Linked DNA regions of Homo sapiens: region 2 is linked to region 1. The links are contacts of gene promoters, found by promoter capture Hi-C in human tissues and cell types (Jung and others, 2019). All regions are on one chromosome and are shown on one strand. The core of a region is centred on a gene start or on the middle of the fragment in contact, and the rest is flanking DNA. Distances in the headings are between cores, read along the strand shown.

Evidence for each region. The method cuts DNA at HindIII sites, captures the fragments that hold promoters and counts their contacts. A contact is called where the count stands out against the background at its distance.
Region 2: a contact is called between a fragment that was not itself captured here and the fragment with the promoter of CLSTN2 in region 1, in 2 of the 25 tissues and cell types used here (H1 embryonic stem cells and heart left ventricle).

Annotation. Positions count from the first base shown.
Region 1 is chr3:139,933,703-139,936,464 of GRCh38, forward strand. It overlaps CLSTN2 (calsyntenin 2), which reads left to right and starts at 1,483. Exons shown (of 17, transcript NM_022131.3): 1 at 1,483-1,781. The coding sequence starts at 1,673. RefSeq lists silencers at 1,481-1,530, 1,571-1,630. The HindIII fragment of the contact is 4,702 bases long and covers 1-2,762 here.
Region 2 is chr3:139,769,251-139,772,230 of GRCh38, forward strand. No RefSeq gene overlaps it. Among named protein-coding and RNA genes, the nearest start is that of NMNAT3, 93 kb to the left of the region's middle. The HindIII fragment of the contact is 6,358 bases long and covers 1-2,980 here.

The DNA of each region.
Region 1 (2,762 bases), core at 233-2,732:
CCAAGCACATCCTGGTGCCTGAAATCCTGAAGAGTTGGCTTTCACCACTGCAGAGGCTCTGAGTGAGCTGCCAGGGCAGCAGAGGGAGGCTGAGCTGCAGGAGTGCTGTTAATGGATTTTATGGCTTTGTTGAGTACCTCAAACTACAGTTATTAATTAGAGGATGCTGTTTAGGCACTCTTGCAATATATACATTTTGTTAATTGATTTGTATAGGCTCATAGCTAGCAACATAAAGAATGTGCAGGACCATAACACTTACAAGGGATTGTAATTGCCTTTGCTGCCCTCTCTGGCTCCCCAAGCAGGGAACAAAAGCTTTGAGGATAGGACCCACTCTCTCCTCTGTCTTTGGATCTCCAACGACTAATCCAGTGCTCACTGTCAGGGTGATACAGCCTGTCTAGATGCTCAGCAAACGTCTTGAATCAATGACTAAATAAATAATATTGTTTGTTTCTGTATTTCCATATCTACTTTATTTCCAAACTATTCCTCATAAACCCTGCATTGTGTGTGATGTTGGCATTTCATTTAGGTAAATATGGTCAAGGATTTATTCTGAGTCCTTACTGTTTTTTTTTTTTTTTTTTTTGAGTACCTTTGTAATTTTTTCACGGCCTAGAGATGGTTGAGGATGCAAAGATATGCACTGGCTCCTGCACTCAGGGAACTGACAATACTCAACGGCACGAGATTTTACAATGCATGACGTCAAGTAGCCTGTTCTTAGAGATGCGGAGTGACAACATAAAGGTGGCAACTTCTTGCATGGCACCATACCGCAGGGAATTTTAAGTTTGACACCCCGCCCCCGCCACTGCAGCCTCAGCAGGCCCAGCACCCCAAGTTTTCTGATCTAGCTGTTCTATCAGCCTCTAAGAGCCGCGGCTGCCCCTGCTTCTCGGAGATGACGCGGAGCCCTGCCATTGCCATCCAGGTCCAAGGCTATCTACTCTGCCCGACAACCCCTAGCACCACTAGGCGCTGCTCTAGTGTGCGCCTGGCGCCCTCCCCAGACCAGTCGACGCAGAACGCCCAGAGACCCAGCCAAGGGCAAGACCCTTAGCGACGCCCGTCAGTCCTCTCCGCCCAGATATCAGTTCAAAGGGCATGGCAGGTCAGGGTCCCTCGCGCCACCCCAGATGACCCTCAGGCCTCGGGTGGCCACTTTCTGGGGGAGCCCTCCATCCCTTGCGGCAGCTTTTCCGAGAGTCGGAGTGGAGGCGCGGGGCTGGAGGGCTCTCCGGAGCCGCCCACCAGGGTCCTCTGGGGGCCCGGTCCCGACTGGGCAGGGGGACCTGGACAGGGCCCCGGAGCGTGGAGACGGCTGAGGAAAGTTGGGGGTCGGGGCCTTGGGGCGGGGAGCGCGGAACCCGGCGCCGATGCCCGCGTTCATGAATATGCACGAGCCACCTCCCTCCCTCCGTGACGTCACGGGCCGTCCCGGGGTGAGCGCCTGAGCCGCTCCGGGTCCGCGCCAGTGAGCGCGGCTGCTGCCGGCGAGCTAGCGGCGCAGCGGCGGGAACCCGAGGCCGAGCGCCGCGGCGGCAGCGCTAGAAGCGCACCCATCGGGCACGGCGAGGCGGCCCACGGTGCGGCAGGCACCGGGAGGCGAGAGCCGGCGCGGACAGTAGGCGGCGGCTGCAGCTCGTTGGCGGCTGCTGCGAGGATGCTGCCTGGGCGGCTGTGCTGGGTGCCGCTCCTGCTGGCGCTGGGCGTGGGGAGCGGCAGCGGCGGTGGCGGGGACAGCCGGCAGCGCCGCCTCCTCGCGGCTAAAGGTGGGTGCTGGGGAAGTTTGCTCTTCTCCCAGGAGGGAGGCAGGGCAGGCTTGAGGGTGAAAGCGGCAAGGACCTAGGCTCAAGCTGGATTTGCCCACCCTCCCTTGCCGCAGCTTCTTTGGCCTCTGTGCGCCCTGGATTCCCGAAGTCAGTTCCCTGCGCAGCGGACCAGAGAGGTCCACCCGCGGACGTCAACTCAACCCCTGGGCGGGGTCCGGGGGCTGAGCAGAAGGCGAGGTCTGGGGAGTACGGACAACTTTGAGGGCTGTCTGTGCCGGGGTGGGAGCGCAGTGGGTGAGTTTCGAGCTCTGGCCCAGGGACGGCTAGAGCAGGGCGCTGGCGCGCCGTGGGGACAAGCAGGTGTCTGCTCCTGCCTGGGGGAAGGATCAGCGGCGGTGCTTTCAAGGAGGGAGCCGAGCTGTGACTTGTCTCCCAGCTCGGGGATGGAGTGGAAACTTGTAGGCTCCAGGGAAGGCCCCGCTGACACTCCTCAAGCTCCCCCAGGGCGTCTCTGACTCCCCGGGGAACGTGTACCCTCCGGGTAGGCGGCGGGGTCCGGAAGAAGCGCGGGATGTGAGGCTCCCCGCTGCCTTTCCTACTCCGCTCTGACTACCGAGGACCGAGGAGCCTAACCTGGCACCACTCCCCTGCCCACCCTGTTCCTTTGAAGAGCTTGACCTCCCCGCGCCTCCCGCCCGGAAGGAAGCTAGATCCAAGCGAACGCCTGGCTCTGTCAGGCGAGCCTGGAAGCCGGCGAACCCCGGACTTTGACAGCTGCCTGGGAGCGTCGGGAGCTCTGGGGTGGGGGGCCGGGTCTGAAACAGGAGGTCACGTGCTTGCAGGGGGTGGGGAGGCGAGGGAAGAGCAGAGCTGGTGGGGAACAGTGGTGGGCTCAGGGGAGGCTGTGGCAGATCCTAGCTGGGGCGCACAGCTTAGTGATAACTTGTTGATTCTCTGCGCTGTTCATAAGTAGGGCTTGCG
Region 2 (2,980 bases), core at 331-2,830, 160 kb before region 1:
AATACCTAATGCATGCAGGGCTTAAAACCTAGATGATGGGTTGATAGTTGCAGCAAACCACCATGGCACATGTATACCTGTGTAACAAGCCTGCATGTTCTGCACGTCTCCCAGAACTTGAAGTAAAATTTTAAAAAATAATAATATGGGGAACCACTGAAAGAACTTATGCAGGGGGTTTCACTTAGTTAACTTTGAATCTTAGAAAACTCTGTCTGTCAGCAATGTGGAGGGTGGCTTGAAAAAAAGGAGGGCCTCGGAGGCAGGAAGAACTATTAAGAAACTATTAGGGTGGTCCAGGTCAGAAAACAGGAGGCAGGGGTTGGATTGGAGCTGACAGACATATTTGAGAGCATGAGTGAGGTCAAAGCTGGAAGATTTGGTGTGGGATAGGACATGGTGTTAGAGGAAGGATGTGTCTGATAGTGCTCAGTCTTTGATCTGGGCTCCCTGATCCATATTCTGCAGGTTCCAGGTTGGGAGAGGAGATTCTGTTAAGCAGATGTGAGGGTGTCCAGGAATATACACTCTTAGGATTTTGCTTAGAGAGAAGCCTAGGCTGGAGAGGAGTACTGGGTATATTCAGTGATGATGGACAGTTGGAGCCGCGCAGGTGAAGGGGAGCCTCCGAAGTTGATGTATGAAATGAGAGAAGCAGAAGCAGTGGATGGAGCCCTGTGAAACATTAACATTTAAGGTTACAGCAGCGCCAAGGCAACTAACCCTGATTTCATGCTGTTTGCCCTCCCCACTAAACATCTTTATAACCAGTGGATGTCAAAGACTCCTACCCCAGAGGAGAAAGCCTCAGCTAGAGAAGTGGAATCATGGGTTGGGTGAGCAGAATGGGACAAATATGTAAGCAAGAAACTGAGGAAGGAAGTGAGAGAAAAATTCTCCCCCATGCCTGTCTCCCACAGATATTTTATGCATGATATAATAAATGTGTGTGTATATATGTGTATCTACACACACAAGCACACACATTTATATACATATACACACATACATAAAACATATATCTGGATAACTTTCTTTTTTTTTTGAGACGGAGTCTCACTCACTGCAAGCTCCACCTCCCGGGTTCATGCCATTCTCCTGCCTCAGCCTCCCAAGTAGCTGGGACTACAGTCGCCCGCCACCACGCCCGGCTAATTTTTTTTTTTTTTGCATTTTTCAGTAGAGACGGGGTTTCACCGTGTTAGCCAGGATGGTCTTGATCTCCTGACCTTGTGATCTGCCCACCTCGGCCTCCCAAAGTTCAGGGATTACAGGCATGAGCCGTCGCACCCGGCCTGGATAACTTTCAACATCGGCACATAAAGAGTTCTTGCATTGTTTTCGCAGTTGCATACATTCCCTTGCGTGTATATACCATAATTTATTTAGCCCAATCTGCTATTGATGGATATATAAGTTGTCCGAGCTTCTGCTACCAAAACAATGCTGCAACAAATGATTTGGCTGCATTATGTTGCTGTGTGCATGTATACCGGTGGGATAGATTTCTAGAAGAGGAAGAGCTGTCAGCATTTCCAGTTTCGATACATATGGTTGATCTGCTCTCCATTACTAGTGTGCCGATTTCTACTTCTCCCTGTAGTGCCCAAGAGTTCCTGTTCCTCACACTCTAATCAGCACAATGTGTGATCAAACTTTGTGATCTTTGTCAATTCAATAAGTGAGATACGGCATTATAAGTTTCATTTTGCATTAAAAAATATAAATGAGGCTGAACACCATTTTAAATGTTCAAGAGCCATTTCCTCTAAAATGTTCCTAGACCTTACCCTTTTTCCTGACTTTTTGCAGTTTGTTTTGGTCTTTTTTCTTCCTGATTTCTGGGGTATTATTTTATATTAACAAATTAGCTTATTGAGTGATAAAAATGCAAATAGTTTTACCCATTTACACTTCGTTTTTTGACTTTATTCTTGCTAAGTTCCCTGCAGTACCCAGCAAGGGGCTGGACCATCAGCTATACTCAGCTGAGGTAGAGGAAGCCAGAGAAGTTTGGAGGTTCAGACTGAGCCAAAGAATAGAGTAGGTGAATTCTTGTTAGTATTCGCTTCCAAGTATTCTCTGGGAGCAAACTGTCACGTGAATGCTGCAGACAGGCAGCCACAGTGTGTGTGTCTTGGTAGGGGCAGGGGAGGTGAGCTGTGTTTATTTAGCCTCTTACAGAACACTCTCCAGGCCCACCACCCTTGGAGCCAAGTGAAATCAATATCTTTGAAATGGACTGAGACAAGTAGGGTCATAGCCTCAAGTTCTGGGCCAGAAATAGCAGGGCACAGTCTTAAGACAAATCTTATGGGGGTGGCTGTGCAGGCAAAATGGACAGGTGACAGCTGGAGGTGCAGGTGGGTGGCAGGTGATTTGTTTGTTACCATTGACAGCCCACATTTGTCACTGTTCACCATGAGCCAGGACCTGGGGACACAGGATCTTGCCTTCGAGGAATTCACAGATCAGGTGAGTGAACAGAGGATGGCAGAACTGTGTGATGCGAACTGGTAGAGATAGCACGGGGAGTTGGGAGCCCCAAAGACAGCAGTGCAATCTGCATGGAGAAGTCCAGGAAGGCTTCCTGGATGAGGTTGCATCTAAGCAGAGTCCTGAAAGACAAGTATGAGTTAGCCAGTCAAAGAAGAGTGCATGAAGGGAGATGTACCAGGTGGAAAGAACGTTTAGGGTAAAGTGCTAGACGGGAGAAGAAAAATGGTTCCTTCAGAAAATTGGAAGTGTTTCAGTGTAGCTGGAGGGCAGGGTTCCAGGAAGATGGATGGAGGTGACAAAACATGCCACTGAGGAGGTAGATTAGGACAGGTCATGAAGGGTAGTGTGGAGCAGAGACGGGGAGAAGCATTGAGAAATGTTCCACAGGCAGAATCAGCAGGACGAGGTGGAATGTATTTGATGGTGTCGAGAGGAGAATTTCAGAGTGAGAAAGAGGCCAAGGAGTTCTGTTTGGTAACAG